Linked DNA regions of Homo sapiens: region 2 is linked to region 1. Evidence: promoter capture Hi-C in human tissues and cell types (Jung and others, 2019). All regions are on one chromosome and are shown on one strand. Each heading gives the region's core, a stretch centred on a gene start or on the middle of the fragment in contact. The rest is flanking DNA. Distances are from core to core; before and after follow the strand shown. Region 1 holds the start of RIMBP2 (RIMS binding protein 2). Region 2 overlaps RIMBP2 (RIMS binding protein 2).

Evidence for each region. The method cuts DNA at HindIII sites, captures the fragments that hold promoters and counts their contacts. A contact is called where the count stands out against the background at its distance.
Region 2: a contact is called between a fragment that was not itself captured here and the fragment with the promoter of RIMBP2 in region 1, in 3 of the 25 tissues and cell types used here (H1 embryonic stem cells, dorsolateral prefrontal cortex and heart left ventricle).

Annotation. Positions count from the first base shown.
Region 1 is chr12:130,713,530-130,717,779 of GRCh38, forward strand. It overlaps RIMBP2 (RIMS binding protein 2), which reads right to left and starts at 2,770. Exons shown (of 23, transcript NM_001393629.1): 1 at 2,693-2,770. The HindIII fragment of the contact is 10,761 bases long and covers 1-4,250 here.
Region 2 is chr12:130,417,659-130,422,125 of GRCh38, forward strand. The region is part of intron 17 of RIMBP2 (RIMS binding protein 2); the gene reads right to left. It also overlaps a transcript of PIWIL1 not described here. Among named protein-coding and RNA genes, the nearest start is that of PIWIL1, 82 kb to the left of the region's middle. The HindIII fragment of the contact is 6,443 bases long and covers 1-4,467 here.

The sequences.
Region 1 (4,250 bases), core at 1,520-4,019:
CACGGGATGAGGTAAGTGGAGAACAGAGTTTTCTGGAATCAGCAGCTCTGCTTGATCAACAAGAGACCAGCACAGCCGATCCGGTTCTCCCCCGGGTTCCCAGCACCACGCGGATTCCAAACCTTGGGGCAGAAGTGGGAAACACTGAGACGTTCAGCCGGCAAGTCTCCGCCCACCTGGAACAGATGCTCATTGCCGTGCCCTAGGGAGACTCCCGGACACAAAGGAAGCTCCCGGGTCAGGCCCTCTGGTCCCTGAGGTTTGGCACTTGCGGGTCTAGACCAACCTATGAGGCGTGCACTCAGCTTCATGTATGACCTCAGCCAAAGGCCAACAGAGAGCTGGCAACATGCCCCAGAGATGCGTAAAGCGCCTCCTGGTCACGCTGTATTCAAGGATCCTCAAAGTGGGGTCCCTGGATGCCTCCACCTCCCCTGGGACTGCGTGGGAATGCGGATTCCCGGCTCCTCCCCAGACCTGCTGGATCAGAGGTTCTGAGATTTGTAGCCCCTTAACCCACCCGCCAGGATGCCAGCGCTCACCAACGTGTGAGAATCGCTGCTCCAATTAAAACTTCAACCAGACTCCAAAAATACAAACGTGGCAGGGGGTGGATTTGAAATGGAAAGCGAAGCAAGCTCAGGAAAGAGCCAGCTCCTGCCTCTCCTCCCGCCCCCTGAGCACATGCTGGTCTCTTCCAGGCGCCAACAGTGCATGGGGCCAAAGAGATGAAACTGAAAGCTACAGTGTAGGGCCCACCGCTTGTCTTTTCATCTTCATGGCCAGGAGCTCTCAGCCCGGCTGCACGCTGGCCTCACCTGGGAGGCTTCTCCACCACCCACGCCCACCCCCGGACTCTGCAGGCTTGGGGTTCTCTGCCGGGCTTGCAGCATGGGGGAGGCCGGCTGCTATGCCCCGGGGAGGGCTGCGTGGCGCCTGCCTCCTGCGTGGGGGGCGGCCCCCATAGCGCCAGCATCTTCCTGTCTCCCGGGCACGTGGGCAGTGCCACCCTCTCCCTGACCCAGTTTGCCATCCTCTAGGAAGGGGCACGGGGGAATAGCCGCTGCCAGCGCCTTCCCTGAAATAACCTGGAAGGGCTCCACTCTGGGCCCCAGGCGGCTGCCATATGGCCACGGCACAGCCCTCGACCCCAGGCACGCCCCACCACCCCCCACTGCAGAAGGGGTGCCCGCCGGCCTTCCCCTCACACCGTGCCCCCAGGGAACCTCCGGAGCCGGTCAGACCCTGCCCATCCCACTGGGAGCTTGGGATCATGTCTCACAGGACAAGCCAAGACCCCACAGCCCAGCGGGGGATGAGTCTGAAGCTGATTCCCGGACAGCCCAGCAAGGCTGGGAGGGAGCCAGGGAGGGGCCATGTGCGTGGGGGAGGTGGTGATTTTTTAGAGCCTTCCCCCACTGTTCCCCTTAGAAACCGGGTGAGTGAGCCTGCACGCCAGCTCCCCTCCCCTGCCCACTCCTGCTCAGAGCCCAGCAGCCTGGCCTGCCGCAGGGCCCAGAGCCCGGACACCTCCTCTTCCCACCGATCTTCCATTTTCAGAGGGAGCCGCTCTCCCTCCTCTCAGGCCTGCTCCATCTGTGACATTTCCCTTCCCTGGACGAAGTGGGGTTTTCACCCTTGTGAGCAGAGTCTCCTTCAGGGCTCCTCCGTGAGAGAAATATGGGGCTGGACAGGGTCCCCTTCCCTCCCTCCTCACTCACCCTAAGAACCTCCAGGGACCCAGAGGCCACGCAGGCACGGAGCCAGCACCCCCGCCTCCCCCGGGGCCAGTGACCAGGCCGGGAGGTGAAGCAGTCCTCCCTCCCTCCGGCCAGCCGCCACCCCGACCTCAGCCAGCGTGCGCTCCCCGGGGACAGGAGGGAGGCTGCTTCCACCGAGGCCTCTGCTGACAGATGTCCGGGCCCCCACCTGGACCTACCCAGACCTAAGCTCCTGGGCGGGTGGTCCCGTACGCGCTGCCTTTCCCGGTGAAATACGGTTTCCACTGGGAGAGTCTGCCCCCGGCCAGCAGCCCGCGCACACTGCTCACACAGGCACACGCATGCACGCACACACTCTGCCGGGGAACATCTGTTTTGACAAACACATTATTCAAGTCAGTCCATGGGACGTGAATTGACAGATTCCTGGGCGCAGCCTGCGGGCTTTGTGCATTTGCACCTGAGCCGAGCTGGGGACTCTGATGTGTTTGTCCCACGTCCCCTTCCCCCCCTCCACCCCGCCCCCAAGAAGACAAGTCCAGGCCCTGAGCCGCTGCTGTCTGAGAAGCCTGGGGCGCACTCCCCAGGCGAGCGGGGCCGTGTCCATCGGGTGCCAAACTTTGCCTGGAGGGGCCTTTCTTAAAAGCCTGGGGTGGGGGCCATGACAGAGCCACAGCACCCCTGCAGCTGACACCCGGCACCCAGGAAGAAGCCCGTCAGCCCTTCCCTTCCGAGACGATCCTGAATTCCAAGCAGCACCGACATGCCAGCAGGGCGAGCCGCTGCTCCCCGCACCCAGCGCCCCCGGACCCCACGCTGAAGGGCATTCTCCATCCGCTGCAAGATAAACTTTGTCTGGGCAAAGAGTTTCCGGCTAACCCCCTGTGATCAACGCCGCTGCAGCTCGGGTGCAGAAAGGCGAGGGGAGACGGGAAGCTATTTTTAGGAGAAAAAAATAAATCTCAGCCTACCTTTAGAAGCGAGCTGTGCCAAGGCTCCGGAGGTTCACCTCGGAGACAACTGCAGTGTACTGTGTCAGATTACAAACTGGGGGCGAGACGGAGGGAGGGAGGAGGGGGAGAGGGAGAGAAGGAGGGAGGGAGGAGGGGGAGAGGGAGAGAGGGAGGGAGGGAGCAGCAGAGGGAGAGACAGGGAGCGAGAGGCAGGCAGAGGCGGCGCCCAGTCAACATTGCAGGGCATTGGTGTGTCTGCACTGCTTGCATTCAGCTAGACATGATTCATTAGTTTTCTGCAGGCAGGCAAGCAGGTCGAGAGGGAGAGAGGGAGGGAGAGAGAGGGAGAGAGAGAGGATCATCCGCCATGCAGCAGTAACCAGAGCCTCTGAAACGTCAGTGTTTGAACGCACACACACACACACACAAATACACATGCACACACACGTGCGCATACACACACCAAGATGGCTATACCCCTCACTGCCAGTTTCTTTCACAGAGCTGTGGTGAAAAGCTCGGACAGAGATGGAGGCAAACAGCTCTCAGCCATGCGGGGCTTGGGGTTGGTGCTTTTCTCTCCATCCCTGGGAAAACAGCACAGGATCTTCCCTGCAGGAGGCCGGGGGTCTCCTGCAACCGACAGGCAACCGATCAGCACATCAAAGTAAAAGCTGCCCTGGGCTCTACTCCAGGAAGCTCAGAAACTCAAGCGCCCTCAGAATTAAGTGATGAAGAGGAGCGACCCAAGCTGCCTGGGTCTTTGCTCTCCTGTCCGGCTCCCCTCCCCACCCCAAGCCTCCAGTGGCCCCGCAGATTCCCCCTTCCCACAGAACTTCAGGTGGTGGCACAGATATACCCGCTACCTAGCAACCGGGTGGTGCAGGAGGGAAAAAACCCTGGGAAACACGCACGGACTTCACACACTTGCTTCCTTCCCTGGGGTAAAAATCCCATGGCTTGTTACTGAAAGGTGCTGAATAAGATAGCTCATGCGGAGGAAAGCCCCTTTGGTATTTTGGGCTCCACATACCCTAATTGAGGCTCTGAGGGCTCCTACTAATGATGGCCCTGTGCAGGGACAAGACTCGAGTGTAGGACACGAGAATTCCAAGGAAGGGCTCACCACGGGTCCTTTGTACAAAAAGGAAGGACTTGTCCCGAGGTGCTTTCTGTTGCTTCTCCAATTAAGGCTCACTTTACAAGTTTTTTAAAAAATGGGCTCCTTAGTAAAACCAACACATCCTACCATCACCGTGGTTTTGCTTGTGATCTTAAAGGAATCGCAAAGGTCTCAAACCTAGACAGCCAGAGGAAACCTCTTCCCAAGACAACTTTTTCAACACTGTGGCAGACGGGTCCAGCGAGTTTTCCCAGTCAGGACTCATTTTGGCCTCCCGGATAGGCTTCTGAATTATATGCCTCTGAATTTGGCTGCAAGACTGGAGGCTTCTTTCAAGCCCCGTGTAGAGTGGCCCCAGCCTCTGTGCATGGAACAAAGAGATACGTGCTGTATCCAGGAGTAGGTGGCAAACCACAGATGATTCCTTTTCACCCTGCAGCAGAGTTATCAGGT
Region 2 (4,467 bases), core at 1,775-4,274, 300 kb before region 1:
CCCAAACATCAGCATTCTGCACTATACCCATGTAACAGACCTGCACATGTACCCCAGTGAATCCAAAATAAAAGTTGAAAGTTTATTTTAAGAAATCAAAACAATTATTTTGGAAATCCTAATACATATGCATATATATACATGTGGATCACTAAACATCATTAGATAGATGTGTACATATGTGTATATATGTATGGAGAGAGAATGGGAGGGGAGAGGGAACTGACAGATAATATTGGTCTGATCATGGGAGGTGGTCTCACAACACCATCAGGGAAGCAAGTGAGAAACACGCCAGCTGGCAGCAGAGAGAGCAGCATTGGGAGAAGCAGCCCAGTGTGAGCTTCTGTCCCAGCACGAGGAACACAGGTGGTGGGACGAGATGACACAGGTATGCAGAAGAGACAGGACAGGTGGTGGAGAAAGAACCAAACCGTTTGGCCTCTTTCACCAGAAAAAATAAAACACGCAGTCTAACAAAAGCACTTTGGCTGCAGGAAAGGTTGAATTTTAAAATGCAATGAATTGTTTACATTATTGAGATTCAGAGTCTTTTTTGAATGCCTAATCTAAAATGTCAGTAATTTCTGCCAGGGAACAAACCTTTTCCACAGCAGCCTTCATTAATTTCTCCAGGCTGTTATGATTTTGTTGATAGTCCATGAAAAAACCTGACTTTTTTCTAGTTTCAAGTGGTATCTGAGTTCAATAGAATGTGAAGCGCTCCATGGCCTCTACAACAGGCACAGCTGTGCAGCCCCTGCTCACACCCAGGGATGATGGTGGAGAACAGCTGTGGCTGCATGAGAAGGACGCCTGCTTTCCATTCTGCTGGAGATCTGCTGGAGGAACTTAATGACCATGTCAGTGTGATCTAGTGAATGCAGTTCCAGGTACGGAAAAATGCCAGTGGAGGAGAACCTCTGGCTACACCATTTTCCAAGCAAGTTCTCAGCACTTCCCAGCTGAGTTTATGTGGCAAGTTTGTGGCATCAAAACGTGCAGAGGGGTCAGGGGCTAAGGTCAGATTCTAGAGAGAGTTGGGTGTGGTCAACATACCCCTTGAAAATCTTTCAGGTCCCTCCTATAGCCTACGTAAGAGTGCATTTTCTCAGTAGGTGGCTTATACTCAAGGACCATGATCTGTGAAAACATCTTTGTGTCTTCAAGTCCAAACTCACATGGACCATGCAACTGGCCACACCACGGGAGGCATTTAGGCAGACACCCCAACACAGAGCTGCCTGAGGCCAGTCCCCCAACGAAGGCTCCTTCCAGAGAACTGCCCACAATGTCACGTTGTTTTGGGGGGAAGACAGGTGTGGGGTAGAGGTGGGTGGAGCACTTGGAGTTGAACGTATGTGAATAAAATCAGCGTATGCGGTGACTCCACCGTATGTTCTTCCAGAGAGGATGCACTGGATGTGTTATGAGCACCAAACCTCGACAGGGAAAGAGTAGCAGCCTCCCTGGAATGTGTCCATGGAAACTTGGCTTCACTGCAGACTGGACTGGGCAGTTGGGGGTCCCTTGTCCTTGGTGATGGCAGGCGAGACTGAAAGAAGCACTTACCTACAGCTGTCTGTCTGACCCTGGGGGGAGTGGGCACTGCCTCCCATCCTGCTGAGGAAGTGTGCTGGCCCAAGGGGTCTTTGTTAGGAGGAAGGGTGTGCATATCGTGTGGGAGATCAGGGCTCATGCCTGGACGCCTGGGTGGGCTCCCAAATCCACTGGTGCCATAAGAATAAGCACCGTCTTCTACAGGAGAGAGGTTTCCCTCACTACCTGGCCCAGACCGACTGCCCTCACTGCTACTGTCCGTTGTAATTTCTATGGAGATAAAGGGAATCATCTATTAAACAGAGTTGACAGCTTTTGATTTTTTTTATTGCAGGGAAACCTGAAGAAAAGAGCTCCCCTTTTTAAGGGGCAAAGCTTTGTCAATAGAGTTACTAATGTTTTTATTTTTCCTCCCTGGACACAAAGAAAACACGCTGGACTTTCCTCACTTTGTAGGCTCAGTAGCCAAAATAACAAAAAATGGGAGAATACAGAGGAGATATTCAGAGTTGATTCCTAAGAACAGAATCCTCTTGAACGTGGTGCTTCGGTTTTAGAAGAGTGAAGCTACAGGCCTTCTGTCTGACAGGTCAACAACTAGATAAATGCAAAGACCAAAAGTTATAAAGGATAAAAATCAAACCTAATTAAGTATATATTTGAAGCCACATAATTTTGTTTTTTAATCATGAAGGACATTTTTTAAATTTTGGAAATCCAGAAAATATTAAAATTTATATTATTTTTCATTGTAGGTCCACTGCTTATTAAAAATAGGAAGTGTATGGTTTACAGACTTAATTTCCTCTGAAAAAGATAAGTAATCCTTTGAAATATAGATTTCTAAAATATTGTTTTCTAGTATTTTCACAAGAAAAATAGAAGTAAATGACAACTAGAGGAATATCCTGTCTGTTCAGCTGTCACTGATGTTCATTTCCCAAAGCTCTTTGCCGAGTCCTCCTCCTCCTCAGGTGGGTGATAAGCACCCTCCGCTTCTGTTTCCTTTTGAAACCATAATAGGTGCTGAGATGTGTATTTGTGTGTAAAGTATCTGGTTAGAGTTATTTTATGTGGTGTCCCGGCTTGCTACATGATAAGAAGTCAGCACAATTAAAGCAAACCTATCATAGGTTTGTCAGTTAACTCTTTTCTGAGTTATGTTCAGAGGCTTTTTCCTTGTTAAGGTGTTGACATAGATTTGCTCTTTCACCCAATTTAACAAGTGTGCTACTGAAATTAAGACACGCATGCAGCCTTTGGAATTCTACGGCTTCAGAAAAATCCAACCACATTCATCAAAAGTAGTTTCATTTGGGAAGGGTTTTTATGATACTAATAAAACTTTAAAGCTTCTCACTGCTGATGAATGCAGTTTTAAAAAAAAAGTCTCAACAATATACAGCCATTTGAAAAGCAATACTGATCTAGGAAAATAGCAAACCAAAGCGGAGACAAAAAATAATTATTTAAGCCAATATTGAGTCTAAGTCCAAGCAACAAGACAACCCAGGACAGTAGATTTAAACCAGACTCTGACAGCGAGGGTCACCCTGGCAAGACTGCAGGCCCAGGGTTGGTTTTCTTGGACTTCCTGGCTCAAGTGCTGATTTGTCACAGCACAATTTTCAGTTCTCAGTCCTAGGAGACTGGAGTAGAAGACCTACCATGCCTCTTCCAAAGGACGTCCTTTCTGAGCGCCTACAGCATTAACTTCTCAGCGGCTACACCATCCCCAGGTCACTTCCTGAGCCATGCTTGCAGTCTTCACTCATTAAAGTTACAGTCAAATGAAGACTCGAAATCTCACCCTAACCACAGAGAGAGAATGAGAGCCTTGAACAGGGGGATTGGCCTTTTCCCCACATCGTTTCTCAAGGCAGGACATCTCGGACAGGTCATTTAACATGAAAGCCAGGAGAACCGATTTATTAAGCTCCATAGTCCCTCCAGAGGGAACGACACACGAATTGAATGAAGATTTGAGAGACACACACTAGGTTTAGAATACCCGAAAGGAATCTGGGCTCCACTAACCCTGCTAGCTGATCTGTAATAAGTGCCATCAATGTTCTGTGAGCCTGACTGCATCTTTTATTACTCAGTTAACTGAAAATACGGTTTCCTAAGGATCTTTAACATTGCATGAAATTTTTACCAGAGAAACATAAACACAATCTAAAAGCTGTGAAGATGGAATTTTTTTCTTATTGTTTGAATTGTACAAGGAAGAAAAAGTCTGGCAGGACACAATTTCAAAGAATCTGTTTTGCTTTATGAAGCCTTTCTTCATTTTGAATTGATGGAAAAGACCAATGGCCTTTTAAACTTCAGCTATTTCAACGAGATTCCAGGTGGCTTTTCAGTGGCCTAGACTATCCAGAAGTTATCCTCCTTGAGCCCTGTCATGCCAAACCAAGACGGTTTCTCCTCATCTATTTCTGCTGTATCAAGAGTTCTCCCTGCATTTATATGTGTGTGTGTGTGTGTGTGTGTGTGTGTGTGTTTTCATAGAAGCCTGGTTCCTCTGTGCTGATGACCAGCTTCCATTATCTTGTGCATAATACTTTTTGGAATTCTCCTTGCCATGATTGATTCCAATAATAGAAGTATCCCCCTCCATGGATTGATTAGGATGACTAAAACGATAGCTTTCAGCATGGCTGGCTGAATTCCAAAAAGTCAGGAAGAGAATGGAAACGGAATGCCAGATGACGACTCATGAGCAAGGGAGGTGCCCAGATGGATGTGGGGAGCACACATTTCAGGGGCACACTCAGCTGCACGGTGTCCCCCAGGATTTAGCTCTGCTGCCAGCGTGTCTTCTGCAGACAGGCAGCATTCCCTCGGGTGGGGCTCACAGACCCCTGAGGCACGCTGACATCCAGCTTCTGCACCTGCCATGGA